3 separate regions of the Homo sapiens genome follow, and regions 1 and 2 are each linked to region 3. Evidence: promoter capture Hi-C in human tissues and cell types (Jung and others, 2019). All regions are on one chromosome and are shown on one strand. The core of a region is centred on a gene start or on the middle of the fragment in contact, and the rest is flanking DNA. Distances in the headings are between cores, read along the strand shown. Region 1 has its middle 14 kb from the start of MIR6881. Region 2 overlaps CYP11A1 (cytochrome P450 family 11 subfamily A member 1). Region 3 holds the start of ARID3B (AT-rich interaction domain 3B).

What was found. Contacts are between HindIII fragments. The study calls those that stand out against the background at their distance.
Region 1: a contact is called between a fragment that was not itself captured here and the fragment with the promoter of ARID3B in region 3, in 2 of the 25 tissues and cell types used here (dorsolateral prefrontal cortex and lymphoblastoid cells).
Region 2: a contact is called between a fragment that was not itself captured here and the fragment with the promoter of ARID3B in region 3, in 1 of the 25 tissues and cell types used here (mesendoderm cells).

The regions. Positions count from the first base shown.
Region 1 is chr15:74,395,555-74,398,437 of GRCh38, reverse strand. No RefSeq gene overlaps it. Among named protein-coding and RNA genes, the nearest start is that of MIR6881, 14 kb to the left of the region's middle. RefSeq lists enhancers at 638-687, 708-1,127, 717-1,350, 1,368-1,567, 737-1,936 and 3 more. The HindIII fragment of the contact is 6,100 bases long and covers 1-2,883 here.
Region 2 is chr15:74,354,276-74,356,975 of GRCh38, reverse strand. The region is part of intron 1 of CYP11A1 (cytochrome P450 family 11 subfamily A member 1); the gene reads left to right. Among named protein-coding and RNA genes, the nearest start is that of CYP11A1, 12 kb to the left of the region's middle. The HindIII fragment of the contact is 4,859 bases long and covers 1-2,700 here.
Region 3 is chr15:74,539,777-74,542,476 of GRCh38, reverse strand. It overlaps ARID3B (AT-rich interaction domain 3B), which reads right to left and starts at 1,257. Exons shown (of 9, transcript NM_006465.4): 1 at 1,147-1,257. It overlaps LOC124903528 (a long non-coding RNA gene), which reads left to right and starts at 1,389. Exons shown (of 2, transcript XR_007064719.1): 1 at 1,389-1,579. RefSeq lists enhancers at 262-321, 1,672-1,821, 1,396-1,937, 1,872-2,001 and silencers at 311-495, 1,012-1,371. The HindIII fragment of the contact is 13,134 bases long and covers 1-2,700 here.

The DNA of each region.
Region 1 (2,883 bases), core at 15-2,514, 140 kb after region 3:
TCCCACATCAGCCTCCCGCGCAGCTGGGACTGCAGGTGCATGCCACCACACCCAGATAATTTTGTGTATCTTTTGTGGAGATGAGGTTTCACCACATTACCGAGGCTGGTCTCGAACTCCTGAACTCAAGAGATCTGTTGGCCTTGGCCTCCCAAAGTGCTGAGATTTCAGACATGAGTCACTGTGCCTGGCCTTCAACACATATTTTGTTGAGCCCCTGCTTGGTGTCAGGCCTGTGCTGGGGTAGGGGATGCAGGGGTCCAGGCTGCTCTTGCAGAGCCAAAGGGACATAGATGTGACCCAGTGGTGGCTGGTGCTGAGTGGAGGGAAGGAGGAGGTGAAGTGATGGGAGTGACCTGCATGGACAGTCAGGGCAGGCTTCAGGGAGGCAGCGTTTGTGCCCTGGGAAGGTCTTGGCTGTTACTGTCCAATCCCAGCCTCTGTCCCTTCCCAAGTCCCCAGGATGAGTGGTAGTCAAGGTGCTGGGTGCCTCAGTGTTATAATGTGAAAAGTCTCAGCCTGGCCTGAAACTCACCCATTAGAGCCCTCACCTGCAGATTCTATGCCCACAGCCCAGGCCAGATGAGGAAACTGTGGCTCAGAGAAGGGAATGACTTCCCAAAGGTCATCCCAAAAGGTAGTGGCAGAGGGAGACCAGATCCCTGATCTACAGATGCCCAGCCTGGGGTCCTTTTAGCTCTGATGGGGTGAGGCCTGGGGCAGCATGAGGCTGGGAGCAGGGAAGATGGGGGAGGGCAGGAGGCTGAGAGAGCCCAGGTGAGAGAGGGCCAAGCTTGAAAGGTTTTCCCAGGCTGGGGGAGAGGCCCTGGTCAGGATGTGTATGGGTAAGGGGTGAGATACAGAGGTCCCTGGGGCGGGCCCAGACCTGTTTCTCCTTTGCCCAGTTTCAGTTCTGTTTTGCTTGTCCCCTTCTGTTTTGCGTTCAGAGTGGGTTGGGGTGGTGGTGGGGTGACTCTTAGCCCCCATCTTGATCCCCATGGTGGGGGATGAGGAGATGGGCTTAACTCCAGACACCACTTTCAGTCCCCCTTTCTACCCCCACCCAGGGTCCCCCAGTCTAAGGGCGGATGCGGGAGGCCTGGCTGGGTCCGTCCTCACAAGGAGGGGCAAGCTGGGCAGAGCCTGGCTGGCCTCCCCTGCTGCCATACCTTGGAGCCCACAGCCTCCAGTGGGTAGTGACTGGCCCCAAATCTAGACATAGGTAATGTTTGCTTAGTGAGCTCATGTGCTATGGGACTAAGTTGAAATGCTCTGCCCCTTACTCATACACCCTTATTGACTCACAGGTCCCCAAGGTGAGTCACGCCCACATCAGGTATTGTGGGTGTATGAGACATACACCCACTGCAAACTGGGATGCAGTTTCCAGTCCCCCTGCCAGCATGCTTAGGGCACCAGGAAGGGCAGTGGGTGCTGATGGGCCCCAGATTTACCAAAGATGACTCCAGTTGGAGGCCTTGGACTGCTGTGGGCTTGTCAGGGGCCTTTGTGGCCCTGGGAGGAGGTGTCTGGGGCTGCTCCAATGTCTTTGGGGTCTCTCAGGTTGGGGTGGATCCTTTGGGAGTGCTGGGCACTGGCAGAGACTCAGGCCGCAGGGAGGGGACTTGCTTTCCCTCTGGCTCCCTCAGGAGGCCTCAGCTGCAGTGCTGGGTGCTGGCTGTCCTCAAACCCATGTCCTCCAGCCCCCTGACGTCTTCTCATTTCCTCATCTCAGGTTTCAGCCCACTCAGGCTGACGTTGCCTTCTGATCTCGTTTTTCAGCAGCCCCCAGGTCTCCGTGGCTGCTGTGCAGAAACGCGAGTGGTTGGGGGAAGTCCACATGATGCTGGCCTTGAAGAGCCTCCTGCCAGCCAGGCCTCAGGAGGGCTCACTTCCCCATTGCAGAACTCCTGCGGAGACCCAGGGGCAATTTCTGGTCTTTAGCACAGGGCCTCTGAGGGGCTGGCTTTTCCTAGGGGCTGCCCTGGTGCTGTGGCACCGTGGGGTGGGGGATTTCGGCAACGCCAGGGGCTCGACATGGCTGAAACTTCTTTGGACAGCTCAGCTACCCCAGGTAGAAGCCTCTGTCCCTCCCGGAGCCAGGCCTGTCCCAGCTTCGAAGTCAGATGTTGGGACATGCTGTATGCCTTTGGGACGAGTAGCCCCGTGGGCTCAGAGCTCTGACAGTGAACCCAGATGGGGTTGCTGTGAGGCACTGGGCGGGTCTAAACAAACAAGGTGCTGTGTGAGTGCATAGGTGCGAACAGGCTGCTCCAAGGGACTCTTGAATTGTCTTTGCGGACAAGTGGGAGTTAGCTGGAAAAGAAGGAGCTGCGTGGTCAGAGGCGTGGAGGCAGGCAGTGGAATAACCCATGTGGAGAACTGCAAGCATTTCCACATGACTGACTGGAGTGTGAGGGGGTGTAGGAGACCGGAGGGCAGGCGGTGGGCAGGGGGCTGGAGAAGGACCCTGAGGGCTCAGCCAAGGAGCAGGACTTTTCCTGAAGCAGCAGAGGCAGAGAGCCAGGCCCCTCCTGAGCCCTCTCACTTCTGTGCAGGGACACCTCCCAGTGAAGTAGGCCTGGGCCTCAGAGGCACCCCGACCCTGGCTGCTGACTCAGCTCTGCCTCTGTGAGGGCCAGTGGGGGGCTGCCCACATGAGCCACGGAGCCATGGCATGGCCTGGGGCTGGCTCTCCTGGGCTGCCCTCCACCCAAGGTCTTGAGGTTCTGCCATTCCCTCTTCAAGGGGTCTGACCATGCAGCCCTAGGTGGGGACGGACCCTGTAGCCTGCTCACTGGTGCCTGGGGTGCCACTGCCAGTCCTGCTCTGGCGCTGATGGGGAGGCAGAGGCAGCCGCCAGAGAGAAGATCCCAGGTGGGG
Region 2 (2,700 bases), core at 77-2,576, 190 kb after region 3:
CTGTAACAGGCAAGTGATAACAGGCTTTAATCTTTTTAAAGCATGCTGTGGGATAGGATATTAGCATTGAACAGGGTAAGGGTGATTAGGTTTTAATGGGATGGTAAGGGGTGCATGATCAGTCACCAAGGAGGGAGTAGACATGTCCCATATGTGTGGATTAAGGTGGGGAGATACAAGGGGAGGATGTGAAGGAGGCTTTAAACTGGGGAAAAGGGTGGCAATAAGGTGTGGCTGTAGCCCAGGAATAGTCAGGGAAGCAGATAATTTAGTTAAAATGTCTTGACCTAATAAGGGAACTGGGCAGGTGGGGATAACTAAAAAGGAGTGCATAAAAGAATATTGTCCAAGTTGGCACCAGAGTTGGGAAGTTTTAAGAGGTTTAGAAGCCTGGCTGTCAATACCCACAATAGTTGTGGAGGCAAAGGAAATAGGCCCTTGAAAAGAAGGTAATGTGGAGTTGGTAGCCTCCATATTGATTAAGAAGGGGACGGACTTACCCTCCACTGTAAGAGTTACCTAAAGCATCTGTGATGATCCAGGAAGCTTCTGAGGCGATTGGGCAGCATCAGTCTTCAGCCGCTAAGCGGAGAAGATCTGGGAAGGAGTCAGTCAGATAGCCTTGGGCCAGAGTTCCAGGGGCTCTGGGAGTGGCTGCTGGGTGAGTTGGACAGTCCAGTTTCCAGTGGGGTCCTGCACAGATGGGACATGGCTTAGGAGGAATCCCAGGCTGCAGGCAATACTTGGCCCAGTGGCCAGATTTCCAGCACTTGAAGCAAGATCCTGGGGCAGGTGGTCCTGGAGGAATGCCTGGCCGCTGCAGTTCAGGCGTTTTGAAGTTCTTGTATGCTGGAGATGCGGCTGGGTTTTGTCTCACAGCAGAGGCAAGTAATTGTAACTCAGAAATGTGTTGCTGTCTGGCTGCCTCCTTTCTATTATTGTACACCTTGAAGGCAAGGTTGATTAATTCCCATTGCGAGGTTTGAGGGCCGGATTCTAATTTTTGAAGCTTTTTTCTAATGTCAGGGGCTGACTGGGTGATAAAATGCATATTGAGAATAAGACAGCCTTCTGACCCTTCAGGGTCTAGGGCTGTAAAGCGTCTCAGGGTTGCTGCCAAATGAGCCATGAACTGGGCTGGGTTTTTATATTTGAGGAAAAAGAGCCTAAACACTAACTGATTTGGGAGAGTTCGGATAAAGAAAAAGGAGCATTAACCTTGACTATGCCTTTAGCTCCAGCCACCTTTTTAAGAGGAAATTACTGGGCAGATGGGGGAGGGCTAGTTGCAGAACGAAACTGTAAGCTGGACTGGGTTTGGGGAGAGGGGGTGATAGAAGGATTATAGGGTGGAGGAGCAGAAACTGAGGAAGAATTGGAGCCTGATTCAGCCTGGCTGGGGAGTGACCTGAGGAGCAGTCTGGGGATGAGGGGAGAGGTCAGATGGGTCGGTAGAAAAGGAAGATTGGAAAGACTCAACAACACTTGGGGTTGGGACTGAAGGGACAGGTGGGAGGGAAAAGAAGATTTGGGACCAATTGCATTGGAAATAGACTAGGGAGGGAACAAAGAATGCCTGGGTGTCAGGTACCTCAGACCATTTGCCCATTTTATGACAAGAATTATCTAGATCTTGTAGGATGGAGAAATCGAAAGTGCCGTTTTCTGGCTATTTGGAACCATTGTTGAGTTTGTATTGGGGTTAAGTGGCATTGCAGAAGAAAATAAGATGTTTAGGTTTTAGGTCACGTGTGAGTTGAAGAGGTTTTAAATTCTTGAGAACACAGGCTAAGGGAGAAGAGGGAGGAATGGAGGGGTGGAAGTTTGCCCATAGTGAAGGAGGTAAGCCCAGAGAAAAGAGAGGATAGAGACATGGAGAGAAGGTGTGGGGGATGCCTGCCCCCCAGGAAAGTGGAGAGAAAAGGGAGGGTAGAGACACGGAGAGAAGGGAGGTGCTTGCCCCCCAAATTAGTGGTGCTTGCCACTAAGGGTGAAGGATCAAGGCAGGTGTCCCCGTGGTGATCAAACACCTCTGAAATGTGGGTGAATAATCAAGCAGGCATCCCCGCAGTGATTAAACACCAAGGGAAGACTGTCTTCCCGAGTCTGTGACCAGCGCTGGAGTTTTGGGTTCACGGATAAAACACGTCTCCTCTGTCTCTGCCAGAAAAGGAAAGGAACTGAAATTAAGGGAAGGGAGAGATTGAAAGATGGCGCCAAGATTGAAAGGAGAAAGAGGTTGAGAGATAGTGAGAGAGGTTGGAGAAGAGAGTAAAAAGAGGCTGCTTACCGGGTTTAAAATTGGTGGGATGTTCCTTGGGCTGGTTGGTCTGAGGACCTGAGGTCATAGGTGGATCTTTCTCACTGAGCAAAGAGCAGGAGGACAGGGGATTGATCTCCCAAGGGAGGTCCCCTGATCCGAGTCATGGCACCAAATTTCATGCGTGTCCCTGTGAAGAGACCACCAAACAGGCTTTGTGTGAGCAATAAAGCTTTTTAATCACCTGGGTGCAGGCAGGCTGAATCCGAAAAGAGTCAGCAAAAGGAGATAGGGGTGGGGCTGTTTTATAGGATTTGGGTAGGTAATGGAAAATTACAGTCAAAGGGGGTTGTTTTTTGGCTGGCAGGGGTGGGGGTCACAAGGTGCTCAGTGGGGGAGCTTTTGAGCCAGAAGAGCCAGGAGAAGGAATTTCACAAGGT
Region 3 (2,700 bases), core at 8-2,507:
TCTCATTTTCTGTTTATCTTATAGCCCTGTTTGTGCCTTTTGTGTTCTGTGAAAGATTCGCATTCCAATTTGCCTCTTACTGCCTTTACTTCCTCTCTTGGCACTTCAGAAAGTGTGAGTTACGCTTGCAGCAATACTTTCATTCTGCTTTAGCTCTTCTTACAGTGTAAAAAAGCATGACAAGATTTACATCCACATTAAATTCAGTTGGCAAAAGTGTTCATTTAAAATGAAAACAATTTGGGTCAAAGAAAATTACAGAATAAAGCAAATAATTCGGTGTTCATTTTAAATGTCCTCATAGTCATTACAGTCAATCAATCACGATCGGAATAACTTCTCAACCAAGTCCTGCCAGTCACTGAACAACTGCTTCTTGTCTTGTGGCACCATCTTCTCTGAATGCTGTCCCCAGCAGAGGGGGAGGTGTCCCTCCCACAGCCTCTTATAGTAAGACTGAGATGACTCAGTTCTACAACTCAATACACACACCCTCCCCCAAAGAGCCCATTTTCCCGCAGTCCCTAAGCAGCCAGCGATCCAAACAATGCCACCTGCCTACATTTGGAGAACTTATGTCTCAAATCTAAACCTCTTCATCCCTTCACACGGGCCCCTCCCCCATTTCCCCTAAAGTTCCCGGACCACCAAGCCGGGTACAACGGACTACCTGCAGCTTTGAACCCGGCCTGCTGACCATTCCCCTGCTTTTGCTGCCGGATTCTTTTGGCCCCGGGCCCCTGTAAGCCCCACAGCCCACCTTCCCGGTCACCCCTGCACGCCTCCCCCCATTCTTTATTCACCTCCCCCCATTCAGCCCTATCATTTTTACCTCTACCAACCCTCCCAGCCAATCCGCTGGCTCTTCCGATGGCCCCCGCCCCACCTATCTGCGCGCCCACTCAGCTCCAGGGCCCCTCACCCTTCTCATCGCTTTATCTCAAACGCTTTATCTCAAATGCCCTAATGGGCACAGGGCGCTCGGGGCTCCCGCGGCGCTCTCACTTTCCTTCGCGGTCCCCGCGCCCCCGACTCGCGCATTCCCCTCTCTCTCTACACCTGCCTCGGCTCCTGGCCTCGGCCCCTCCACCTGTCGCAGCCTCCTCTCCCGCCATGCCTGAGGGAGCCCGGACCCGGGCCACTTACCTGTGCGGGGCACTCCGGGTTTTCGGGCGGCGGAGGAGGCGGCAGCTCAGGCCCCGGCGCGGCAGCTGCGTCTCGGACTCCTCCGCAGCCGGGGGCCACAGCCGGGGCGGGGCCCGCACCGGAAGCGGCGCCGCGGGGCTGGACCGCCAGCCAGGGGCGGGGGCGGGGGCGGGGCGGGGCCACAGGGGGCGGGGCGGGACCGAAGCCGGAAGCTGCTAGAAAGGGACCGGGGGGCGGGGTGGGACGAGGCGGAAGTGACTCCTACGGACCGCGCAGCCCGACTGAGTTGTGGGAGGAAGCGAATGGAAGCGGGCGGAAGCCTCGGCCAATGGCAAAGTGCGGACACAGAGGGGTTCCGGTGTGAGCACTTCCGCGGGGAGTTGAAAAGAGCTGGGCGGGAGATCGTGTTCTCCGAGCGTTTTCTATTGCGGAGGTTGGTGTGGCTTGGGCGGTTGGCTGGGAGGAAAGTAACTAAAGAGCAGAGGAGTGTAGGGTTTGCCGTCGCTTCGGTCCCCTCCTCAATCTCCTGCCTTCAAGCCGGTCTTCCTCAGAGGTTCTCGTGTTTAGATCAGCTTGTCTCTAAACTTCTCCGCTCCTTCCTGGGACAGAGACCTGGCTGTCCCGAGAATGTTGCGTCCCTTGAAACTTTCTCACATGAATTAGTATTCTCAGGTCTCAGTTTGCAGAGGTCGGGATTATGTGCCAGGTGCTGTCACCTCTTGTAAAAACACTTGCTTCTTCAGCCCTTCCCCTTAGACTCTGTCACCTACTTCACCCCGTTTGGAGATAATCTGCCGATCTGTGTATCCAGCTCCTTGTCTGTCTCCCGTCTGACCATCTTTGATAATTTCAGAGCCTATGTGGCCAACCCATTCAACATCGGGCCTCGTCTTTAGCGACCCTTATATCAGCCTCCCAATCCCAGTTAAAACCTGGACCTTGTCCCTCCAAACGCTATCGCGTCACGACTCAGTAATTTGAACAACCCTCTTTTCAACCACAGCCTGCTATTCTCTCAGCTTGACTACTTTTGAATTATAGGCCTGATGCAGTAGCTCACGCCTGTAATTTCAGCACTTTGGAAGGCTGAGGCAGGCGAATCTCTTGGGCCCAGTAGTTGGAGAGCAGCCTGGGCAACAAGGCGATACCCCATCTCTACAAAAAATACAAAGTTTAATGAGGCGTTTTGGCGCATGCCTGTGGTCCCATCTACTCGGAAGGCTGAGGTGGGAGATCACCTGAGCCCAGGAGAGGCGGAGGTTGCAGTGAGCCATGATTGTGCCACTGCACTCCAGCCTGGGTGACAGAGACACTGTTCCCCCCCCCCAAAAAAAATAGAATTACAGCATAACTGTTATTACTGTTATTTCACTTTTTTTTTTTAGAAGGAGTCTTGCTCTGTCGCCCAGGCTGGAGTGCAGTGGCGCAACCTCAGCTCACTGCAACCTCCGCCTCCTGGGTTCAAGCAATTCTACTGCCTCAGCCTCTCGAGTAGCTAGGATTACAGGTGTGCGCCACCAAGCCAGCTAATTTTTGCATTTTTAGTAGAGACAG